2 separate regions of the Homo sapiens genome follow, and region 2 is linked to region 1. The links are contacts of gene promoters, found by promoter capture Hi-C in human tissues and cell types (Jung and others, 2019). All regions are on one chromosome and are shown on one strand. The core of a region is centred on a gene start or on the middle of the fragment in contact, and the rest is flanking DNA. Distances in the headings are between cores, read along the strand shown. Region 1 holds the start of ZNF480 (zinc finger protein 480). Region 2 overlaps ZNF432 (zinc finger protein 432).

Region 1 (5,469 bases), core at 253-2,752:
CTTGAAGTAACGTGAAGTGATTCCAACCCTTTATCTTTATTTTATTTATTTATTTTATTATTTATTTTTTTGAGATGGAGTTTCACTCTTGTTGCCTAAGCTGGAGTGCAATGGAGTGATCTCAGCTCACTGCAACCTTCACCTCCCGGGAGCATGCTGCTCTATCTTTTTTTTCAGATGTTTGAGCTATTCCAGGTTTTTTGGGATTTCTGTTGGTTTGTTTTGTTTTTTGCTTTTCTACATAATTGTTTGGATAATCTTGTCAGTATCTACGAAGTGCCTTGATAGTAAATATATTAACCCTGTGTATCAATTTGGGGTAATTTCACATTTTTTTCTATGTTGAGTTTATCAATAAATTGATATTGTATATGTCTCTATCTGGGTGTCTTTGATTTCTTTCATCAGCATTTTGTAGTTTTAAAATCCTGAGAATGTTAAATTAACATATTTTTTGACTTTTTTTTTTTTTTTTTGAGACAGAGTCTTGTTCTGTTGCCTGGTCTGGAGTGCAGTGGCACAATCTCAGCTCACTGCAACCTCCGCCTCCCAGGTTCAAGCGATTCTCCTGCCTCAGCTTCCTGAGTAGCTGGGATTACACGCGTATGCCACCATGCCCAGCTAATTTTTGTATTTTTAGTAGAGATGGGGTTTTACCGTGTTGGCCAGGCTGGTCTCGAACTCCTGACCTCAAATGATCCACCTGCCTTGACCTCCCAAAGTGCTGGGATTACAGGTGTGAGCCACCTCGCCCGGTTAATGCTTTTTTAAAACCAACAATTGGTGACCTAAATTCTCACTGGCCTTAGCCCTCCATGCCCCTGGTGCTGTCACTAGAAAACTCTCTGGAGCTGAGCACAGGGTTACCTCTGTCCCTCCCGAAAGAACAGGGAATAGAAAAGGAGAGGATTTCTATTCTGCTTTGTGGGCCGTCAGCATGAAATTGCACATTCTGCCCAGGCAGGGCTTTGCAGTTCATGTATTAACTTGCGTCGCTTTCACAGACAATCCCAGGGCTTAATTAAATTGCTAAATTTAGTTTTTTATGTATTTATTTGAGAGACTGAGTCTCTGTCGCCCAAGCTGGAGTGCAGTGGCCGTCATAACTCAGTGTAAACTCGAACTCCTGGGCTCAAGCGATCCTCCCGCCTCAGTCTTCGGGGTAGCCGGGACTACAGGTGCCCGACCGCACGGTCGGCTTAAGATTAACTTTAATAGCAGGAATTTTCCTGGATCTAATCATTAGCCGACTTTGCTCAGTCCCGGCAAGAGTACAGTTCCGAGACAGCTGAGTTGCTCCAGTCTCCTTGACAGGTCTCCCCGGCAAAACCCGGAAAACAGAGGCACTGGAAGCGAGGCGGAGGGAAGCGCAAGCCCCACTCCGCCCCGCCCCCGCCCCCGCCCCCGCCCCCGCCCCCGCCCCCGCCCCCGCCCCCGCCCCCGCCCCCGCCCCCGCCCCCGCCCCCGCCCCCGCCCCGCTCGGACCCCTCCGCTGCGCGCGCAGTTTCCCACAAACCCGGAAGCGGATCGCGTGGAGTGAAGGTCACGCCGCGGCGCGTGAGTTTCCCTTTGTGTAAATTAATCTGCGCTTCCCAACTCCCCCGCGCTTCTGTACCCGGGATCTGAGGGGCCACACAGACCTTGAAATCCTCGCACCGCTCCCTCTACCCCGACCAAATTCAGGCGTCTCCGTGAGAGTCAGGCGGTCGCTTCCCTGTGTGTTTAAATCGCTCGGCGGCGGGTCCTGTCCCCCGTCCTTCTGCCACAGGGCCATGTAGTCACCTCCTGTCGCGGAGTTTTCCTGTTTCAAGTCCTTCAGTGATGCTTACATCCGCCCCGCACAGCGTAAAGTCCTCCCCCGCTAGGCGGATTCCGGTCTATGCGGTCCCCCAAGCCTCGCCTTTGTTGGCCCTGGAGCACAGCGCTCCAATCTCAATCCAGGAGAAGCCGCGTCTTCTGCCCAGTGCTGGGATTCTGCAGACGCCACCCATCTCTTGATCCAGACCCTACCTTTACCCTCCTTGATACGGGGCCCCGCTACTCCCCAGGCCTCCTCTTCCCAGACACCGCTTCTCCTAACCCTGCGTGTGGGGAGGTGACTTACTCTGTCTCTTGACATCCAGTGTTCTTGCGGGCCAAATAACACCCCACTGAAAAGGTGTTCTGCTTGTGGACATCGGATCCCAATTCCTTCCATGTGAATGTGTGCAGAAAGAGAGACGGAGAGCGAGGGAGAAGAAAGAGAAAAATTTTGAAGGAGAAAAGAAGATTGAGGGAGAGCCGTAAGCAGATGGCAAAGTAGAGAGTGGATGGAGGATTTGCAGAGACAGCGAATGAAGCCGAGAAAGTAGCAGGGGGAAAAAAGCAACTGGAGAAATGCAGAGAAAAGTTCCATCTCCGGAGAGATGAAGGACAGCAAGATAGTGAGAGGGGCAGCAAAGTGGGAAGTTCCTCAGTTTGAGAGTGGGGGAGAGGGGGAGGGATTTGGAGCCAGGGCAGACAGAGCAGCGTGGTGCTGGGACAGCAAGAGGAGTCAGCTGGTGACAACGAGAGCAGAGGGAGAACCACAGCAGGTGGAGGCCTGGGATCTCAGGGTGCCAGAGAGTGGGGACAAGGGGGTGTAACAGAAAAGAAGGGATTTAACAGAGAGAGCAGAGGGGGAGTAGAGTCAGGGGAAGAGGCAAGACCGGGCACAGTGGCTCACGCCTGTAATCCCAGCACTTTGGGAGGCCAAGGTGGGTGGATCACGTGAGGTCAGGAGTTTGAGACCAGCGTGGGCAACATGGTGAAACCCCATCTCTACTAAAAATGCAAAAATTAGCCGGGCGTCAGCGCGCGCGTGTAATCCCAGCTACTCAGGAGGCTGAGGCAGGAGAATTGCTTGAACCCGGGAGGCGGAGGTTGCAGTGAGCTGAGATTGCGCCATTGCACTCCAGGCTGGGCGACAAGAGCAAAACTCCGTCTCAGGGAAAAAAAAAAAAAAGAGACAAATAGGTGGAGAATGGGATGATCAAAGATTGAGCAGAAAGTTTGGAAGAGGGGTGAAACAAGTTGCCAGAATGGAGCAGAACAGGTGGAAGAGAAGGAATAGAAGGAAGAAGGGGAGAAACATCAGGAGAAGAGAGGGGCTCAAAATGAGCAGAATCTTAGGGGAAAAATAAAGGGGGAAAAAAGCTAGAGAAAGAAGGTGAGAATGAGAGATACGTACAGAATGAGGGAGGGAAACACAGTACCCAGAAAAGAGGGAACCCTGGGTGCAGATGAACGGTGAGTTGATTGGATATTATGATTAAGTTGTGACATTGATTTATCTATTTATAATTTGATAATATGAAATATACTTTAAAAATACAGATGAAAATGGATATGCAAAACTCCTGTCTGTAAGGCTGGTGCATTTTATAATTCTTGGCATCAGACTTTAGCTTCCACTCACATTCCCTATTCAGGCACAGGTCAGTGACTTGAGTCATTCAGGTGTGGGTCACCCACTTTCCTTTTCCTGGGATGGGGTAGGGTGTGGGCGAGTGTAAAAGATAGCAGGAAAACCAAAGTGTTTTTCCTACTCTTGCAGTCAACACAATAGTGAACACTCAACACAGAATGCTTCATATCTGATGAACAAAATGTGTGGGGATTTCTTCCCACCAACAAGCAATTCGTCAGACACCGCCTGGGTGATCCGTAATTTCAGTCAAGTTGACACTGTCTACTTGAAGTTAGCATCAGATCCCACAGGTTGGGGGCTCAGTTCCACAAGGCTGCCGCTACTTCACGTGCTGGTTGTAAGTTCCTGGTTGGGACCTGAACTTCAACCAAACATCTAAAAATTGAAGATTCCCTTGACCCTTTGCTCAGATTTTATTAATTTGTTAGCCTCATTCACAGAACTCAAGGAAGCATTTTGCTTAGTTTTACCCATTTGCTATGAAGAATATTGCAAAAGATACAGATGACTAGCCCGATGGAAGAACCCTCCTAGCAAATTAATCAAAAGAAGGGGCTTTGGGATACCCTGATTTTTTTTTTCTTTTGTTTTGTTTTGAGACAGAGTTTCACTCTTGTTGCCCAGGCTGGAGTGCAATGGCATGATCTCAGCTCACTGCAACATCCATCTCCCAGTTTCAAGCATTTCTCCTGCCTCAGCCTCCCAAGTAGCTGGGATTATAGGTGTGTGCCACCACGCCCAGCTAATTTTTGTATTTTTAGTAGAGACGAGGTTTCACAATGTTGGCCAGGGTGGAATAAATGGAGTTCAGTACTGTTTGAAGTTCCAGGCATCCAATGGGGGTCTTGGGACATCTTCCCCATGGATACGGGGATTCCAGTGTGTTCTGTCTCTGGTGCTGAGCACCAAGGCTCTGTGTCCTCCATTTCTGAGGGATTACATGAGCCTGGGATCCATAGAGAGGAGAGGAGGGGCTGTGCTCTGCATGGGGTTTGGTCAGGGCTGGGTCTGGCCCTGAAGGGGAGCTTAGACCAGGCCAGCTCCCCACTGCTGCAGCGTGCGTGTGGGCATCTCTAGGAGGGGAGCAGGTTCTGAAGACGAGTAAAAAACTCACTTGTTGTTCTTCCTGTAGGAGTTTCTTGTCTCTGCATCAACTCTGGTGCAGTGGGCAGCAGAGGACATCTTTCCGCAGGGTGAGGTCTAACCTGTGTGTGTGATTGTGGCACAGGAAAAGGGTGTGTTGATTCTAAGCCCTAAACAGCATATTTTTGACATTTAGGATTGACTTCTAAAGAGTCATGCTGTGTGATGAAAAAGCCCAGAAGAGAAGGAAGAGGAAAGCAAAGGAGTCAGGGATGGCTCTTCCTCAGGTGAGATGATATTCTCGGTGGATTGTTCTGTCTCCTTTCTTTCAGAAACGCTGGGCCTTCGAGTTGGGAGTCTTCTCTGAGTCTGAAGTGTCCTGCCTGACAGGTTTGCTCACGCTTACCTATGCCTTCCCTCAGTGCCGAGACCAGCTTGGTCGTGGGGACCCTAACCTAGTGGCACTAGAGGAATTAAAGACACAGACACAAGAATAGAGTGTAAAGTGGGATCAGGGGCCAACAGCCTTCAGAGCTGAGAGCTGCGAACAGGGTTTGACCCACATATTTATTGACAGCAAGCCATTGATAAGCATTGTTTCTATAGATTATAGATTAACTAAAAGCATTCCTTATGGGAAACAAAACATTCTTAGCAAGGAGTAGAGAAACAGTCTTTGGCTAATTATCTGCAGCAAAAACGTGTTAAGGCACAGGCCACTCATGCTATTGTTTGTGGTTTGAGCAGTTTTCCACTCCGGGCAGGCCAGGTGTTCCTTGTCCTGCTCCAGTAAGCCAACAGCTTCTAGCAGTGTGTGTCATAGCCATCACAAGCACGTTTCATTGCTGCAAAAATCCTGCTTATGGCCAATTTCTTTAAAGCCTGTTGCCAGCATGTTCCCCTTTCTGTTTTTGCAAAGTGACAAAGGCAAAGGCTGC
Region 2 (5,919 bases), core at 1,354-3,853, 250 kb before region 1:
CAGTCCTTTCTAGGTAAACAGTAAACAAAAATAGTAGAGACTTTTAAGAAGAGAACTCCATAGGTAGAGGACATTCAATACAACACCAGCACAGACAGGACAGATGTATGGTACTAAAGGAGAATGCAACCTTAAAATAAGATGGGAAGGGTTTCTTGTGGAGGGAAAACGATTCCCATTCCTAATGTAGGCACTGCTTCTGTGTCCTCAGACACCCACAGAGCCTTCTTTCACTGACTATAATATTACTTACGCATCTTGCTGCTTCTCACATACCTGGACAGATTCGACTGTGCCTTTCATCTTCCATTGTCCATGGTTCTTCTCCTCGTTCCAACTTGGAGAGTGCATCTGGTTTGCTGACTTGATAACCTGTTTACGGGAAATAATAGAAGACAGACACACTGGATTGGGCTGGGGTATGTAATGTGAGAGAATGTTACATTTAAGTAACTAGACAGTTTTCACATCTGAAAGTAGAGGCTTCTCTCTCAGGAAAGGGCAGATTACAGTCAGACCTTAATATCTGAAAATTTCACATCCAGGGATTCAACCAACCATGGATTGAAAATATTTTTTAAAAAACAATAAAAAATACAATAATAAAAAAAAATACAAAGTGCAGTGGCTCTTGCCTATAATCCGAGCACTATGGGAGGCTGACATGAAACCAACATTTGAAGCCAGGAGTGGGAGACCAGCCTGGGCAACATAGACTCCATCTCTACAAAAAAAAAAAAAAATTAGCCAAGCATGGTGGTTTGCACCTGTAGGCATAGTTCCTCAGGAGGCTGAGGCAGGAGGAACACTTGAACCCAGTTCAAGGCTGCAGCGAGCCATGAAGGCACCACTACATTCCAGCCTGAGTGAAAGACCGAGACACTGTCTCTAAAGAAAAAATAAATAAATAAATTAATTAAAACATATAGTATAACAACTATGTACATAGCATTTACATTGTATTAAGTATCAGGCATAATTTGGAGATGATTTAAAGTATTCAGGAGGAGGTGTGTGTAGGTTATATGCAAATACAATGCCATTTTATATGAGACTTGAGCATCTGTGGATTTCATATCCATGGAAAGTTGTGAAACCAATCCCTCTTGGACACTGAGGGGTGACGGTATATCCTTTTATCAGAAGCCAGAGGATGTGCCAAAAATCTAATATTCAGAGCACTGCAGTAACTTCCAAGGGTAAGCAACTGAGAAAGCAAAGGCCACAGACTGGGCACCCTCCAGGTGACACAGAGCAGCTGTCCTCACCCATTGATAGCAGGTTGCTGTAGATCTCCAACATCACATCCCGGTACAAATCCTTCTGAAAAGGGCCCAGGAGCTGCCACTCCTCCCAGGTGAACTCCACAGTAACATCCTCCAGTGTCAGCAATTCCTGTAAGAAAACAGAGCCTTGCTTAATAGGAAGTGTTTCTCTTTTACTGACATGAAAAGAAAGTGAAGGGAAGTTGTCCCGCTCACATTAAACATATAGACTGCATCCATCTATAAGTCTATTGTATTTTTTAATATTGCCAGAGAATCTCCAAGTATTCTATAATTGCACAGTGCCCCATTTGCTCAACAAAAATTAAGGTTTTATATCAAATCCTCTCAGTAAAAGCGGGTTTTATGTATAAATTTTAATTTTGGTATCTATTGACCAGTCAAGAAAGTATATGCTACTGACATCTAGATATCTGATATAAATTGTTTCATTCACTGTTAAGCCTTCCCAGCTAATACTAGCATAAGACATAGAGAGACTTCAGATGCTAGAACCACAGGATACTACATTCATGTTTAATTGTTAAATGGATTAAAAAATAGAAATGTACAGAAAACATGAGAAACTATTAAAGAGTAACCAAATTGGGAAAACTTATTCTTGGAAACATACATTAAATATATATGTATGCACACATACATATAAATATATGTTTATGTATATATACGTATACAGTCACAGGTATATGTGTCTATTAACAGAAAGGTTATATTAAATACACTGAAGAGATAATTAGTGAGTTGGAATTCACAGTAAAAAAAATAACAGGGCCAGGTGTGGTGGCTCACACCTGTAATCCCAGCACTTTGGGAGGCTGAGGCAGGCGGATAGCTTGAGCTCAGGAGTTCAAGACCAGCCTGGGAAACATGGTGAAATCCTATCTCTACCAAAAAGACAAAAATTAACCAGGTGCGGTGGCACACACCTGTGATCCCAGCTACTTGGGAGGGTGAGGTGGGAGGATTGCTGGAGCCCAGGAAGTTGAGGCTGCAGTGAGCTGTGATCATGCCACTGTACTCCAGCCTGGGTGACAGAGTGAGACCCTATCTCAAAAAATTAAAATAACTGAAAAATGAAGCAGAGACACAAAGTGACAGAAAGTATGAAGGAGACTTTACTAAATATGGAAGACAGAGTGAGGCCTAACATATGCCTATACATAGTTTTTGAAATATTATATTCAAATAAGAGAAGCAATTTCCAAATATCTGACTGAGAAATTTTCAGAACTGATTAAATATCCTATAACTCAAATTTAATAAATCAACAAAGCCAAGCAGAAAATCTGCATCTAGACACATCAGACTGAAACTATTGAACATCAGATGCACATATAACATTATGCAAACAACTGTTAATAGAAGGAAAAGATGCATTACCATCAAAAGAAAAATAAAATGTCCTAACAACTGACTTCCACAGAAACAAAAGAAGCAAGAAAAGTGCAGAATAATGTCTTCAATGTCCTGATTCTGTGGCAATTGGCAAATTGTATGGTATGGCCTAGCCCTGAATGCCACTGGAAAATAAATTGAGACCCTCTTGTCAACTAAACTGCCACTCTCCTGTCTCAACATGACTTATAATCACATGGTAGTAGGAACTTGAGGCAGGAAAGAGCTAGGTGCAAATTTGTGGGGAAAAGCAAGAGAGATCAGATTGTTACTGTGTCTGTACAGAAAGAAGTAGACATAGGAGACTCCATTTTGTTCTGTACTAAGAAAAATTCTTCTGCCTTGAGATTCTGTTAATCTATGACCTTACCCCCAACCCCGTGCTCTCGGAAACATGTGCTGTGTCAAACTCAGGGTTAAATGGATTAAGGGCGGTGCAAGATGTGCTTTGTTAAACAGATGCTTAAAGGCAGCATGCTCCTTAAGAGTCATCACCACTCCCTAATCTCAAGTACCCAGGGACACAAACACTGCGGAAGGCCGCAGGGACCTCTGCCTAGGAAAGCCAGGTATTGTCCAAGGTTTCTCCCCATGTGATAGTCTGAAATATGGCCTCGTGGGAAGGGAAAGACCTGACCGTCCCCCAGCCCGACACCCGTAAAGGGTCTGTGCTGAGGAGGATTAGTATAAGAGGAAGGCATGCCTCTTGCAGTTGAGACAAGAGGAAGGCATCTGTCTCCTGCCCGTCCCTGGGCAATGGAATGTCTCGGTATAAAACCCGATTGTATGCTCCATCTACTGAGATAGGGGAAAACCGCCTTAGGGCTGGAGGTGGGACATTCGGGCAGCAATACTGCTTTGTAAAGCACTGAGATGTTTATGTGTATGCGTATCTAAAAGCACAGCACTTAATCCTTTACCTTGTCTATGATGCAAAGACCTTTGTTCACGTGTTTGTCTGCTGACCCTCTCCCCACTATTGTCTTGTGACCCTGCCACATCCCCCTCTCGGAGAAACACCCATGAATGATCAATAAATACTAAGGGAACTCAGAGGCTGGCGGGATCCTCCATATGCTGAACGCTGGTTCCCCGGGTCCCCTTATTTCTTTCTCTATACTTTGTCTCTGTGTCTTTTTCTTTTCCAAGTCTCTCGTTCCACCTTACGAGAAACACCCACAAGTGTGGAGGGGCAACCCACCCCTTCACAAATTGATGGGATAATCTATCCCCATATAATCACAGAGATTAATACACAGAGAAAAGAACAGACTTGCTGAAGTCTGCAAATTCTTAATGCTGCTGATCTCATCACATTCGGGAATTATTTCACACGAGAAATAAATCTGTTTGAAAAAAAATGTAGGTTTCTACCTAATTTCATACTCAAAAATAAGTTTTTCCTGTTTAAAGTCCTTACCAGAAAGCAAAAGAACCTGTGGAAGCAGAAGCAAATACGAAATATATTCATGTTAAAAGCCATAAAGGAAAAAAAAGGGACAAATTTTATGAGAAAAAAAATTTAATTTCTACATTGAAAAACAGATCATAAACAAAGCTGAAAGAAAAATGACAGGCTAAAAAAAACTTTGCAATAAACAAAAGATCAATATATAGTAGATATAAGCAACTCATTAGCCAGTAAGAAAAAAGTTTTTTTAATGTAAAAATCATAAAGTCAGGCATTTCACAAGAGAAAAAAATCCAGTTGGCCAAGAAATACACAAGAAGGCTTTCAACCTCACCTGTGATGAGGAAAATGCAAAATAAGACAAAAGAATATTGGATCATTGAAAATTGTATAATTTGATAATGTCATATTTTTAAGTATTGGCAAAGATTTAAGGCACAAAGGACTCCATGTATCAGTTTCTATGTGGCAGGCACTCATCTAAATACTTTACATAGTTTAACAATGTTTTCATGTATGACTTTAGACAAATGGAATTTTATACAGTCAATATTCTTCAATTAATTGCAGTGATTATTCCTTTATATTCTAAAACTACACCACCTAAGGTAGGGGTGTCCAATCTTTTGGCTTCCCTGGGCCACACTGGAAGAAGAAATGCGTTGGGCCATGCATAAAATACACTAACACTAACGATAGCTGGAAAAAAATGCAAAAAATTCTCATTATAAGAAAATTTACAAATTTGTGTTGGGCCACATTCAAAGCCATCCTGAGCTGCATGCAGCCCACAGGCCACAGGTTGTACAAGCTTGATCTAAGGTGACCAACAGGTGGAATGTGATTCCACTGAAGCAAAAGAAGTCATAATAAATGTGTTTATATATGCAGACACATACATAAAACACATGGATTTATAAATACACATATATACAGAGATGCACACATTTCAGTGACAGCAAGTATGTGCTACCAAACATTTGTTGAAGCAGTATAAGAGGATTAGGAAGAAAGTTATGAAGAGGGAATCTACTTTTACTTTTTTTACCTTTTTTTTTTTTTTTTTTTTCGAGACGGAGTTTCGCTCTTGTTGCCCAGGCTGGAGTGCAATGGCATGATCTCGGCTCACCACAACCTCCACCTCCCGGATTCAAGCGATTCTCCTGTCTCAGTCTCCTGAGTAGCTGGGATTACAGGCATGCGCCACCACACCCAGTTAATTTTGTGTTTTTAGTAGAGATACGGTTTCTCCATGTTGGTCAGGCTGGTCTTGAACTCCCGACCTCAGGTGACCCGCCTGGTTGGCCTCCAAAAGTGCTGGGATTACAGGCGTGAGCCACTGTGCCCGGCCCGGAAATTTACTTTTTTAACCAGTGTGTACTTCATCATCAGAATTTATTTCCCTGTGAGGCCAGGTGCAGTGGCTCACGCCTGTAATCCCAGCACTTTGGGAGGCCGAGGCGGGTGGATCACCTGAGGTCAGGAGTTCGAGACCAGCCTGGCCAAGATGGCAAAACCCCATCTCTACTAAAAATACAAAAACTAGCCAGGCATGCAAGTGCACACCTGTAATCCCAGCTACTCAGGAAGCTGAGGCAGAAGAATCCCTTGAACCCAGGACGTGGAGGTTGCAGTAAGCCAAGATCACGCACTGCACTCCGGCTTGGGCAACAGAGTGAGATTCCATCTCAAAAAACAAAAACCAAAAAAAAAAAAAAAAAAAGAATTTTTTCCCTTTGGATTCCATGAGTAATTTATGTAATTACAAAAAATAAAAGCAATATAAGTATGCAAGAATTGGAGGTGAAAATGCAGAAGGATATTGTA

The links. The method cuts DNA at HindIII sites, captures the fragments that hold promoters and counts their contacts. A contact is called where the count stands out against the background at its distance.
Region 2: a fragment that was not itself captured here is called in contact with the fragment with the promoter of ZNF480 in region 1 in 1 of the 25 tissues and cell types used here (small bowel).

The regions. Positions count from the first base shown.
Region 1 is chr19:52,295,667-52,301,135 of GRCh38, forward strand. ZNF480 (zinc finger protein 480) reads left to right here and starts at 1,503. Exons shown (of 5, transcript NM_144684.4): 1 at 1,503-1,557; 2 at 4,728-4,818. The coding sequence starts at 4,747. ZNF766 (zinc finger protein 766) reads left to right here. Exons shown (of 4, transcript NM_001010851.3): 4 at 1-380. RefSeq lists enhancers at 1,565-1,614, 1,685-1,734. The HindIII fragment of the contact is 12,331 bases long and covers 1-5,469 here.
Region 2 is chr19:52,040,212-52,046,130 of GRCh38, forward strand. ZNF432 (zinc finger protein 432) reads right to left here. Exons shown (of 5, transcript NM_014650.4): 3 at 1,269-1,395; 4 at 277-372. Among named protein-coding and RNA genes, the nearest start is that of ZNF432, 5.7 kb to the right of the region's middle. The HindIII fragment of the contact is 8,925 bases long and covers 1-5,919 here.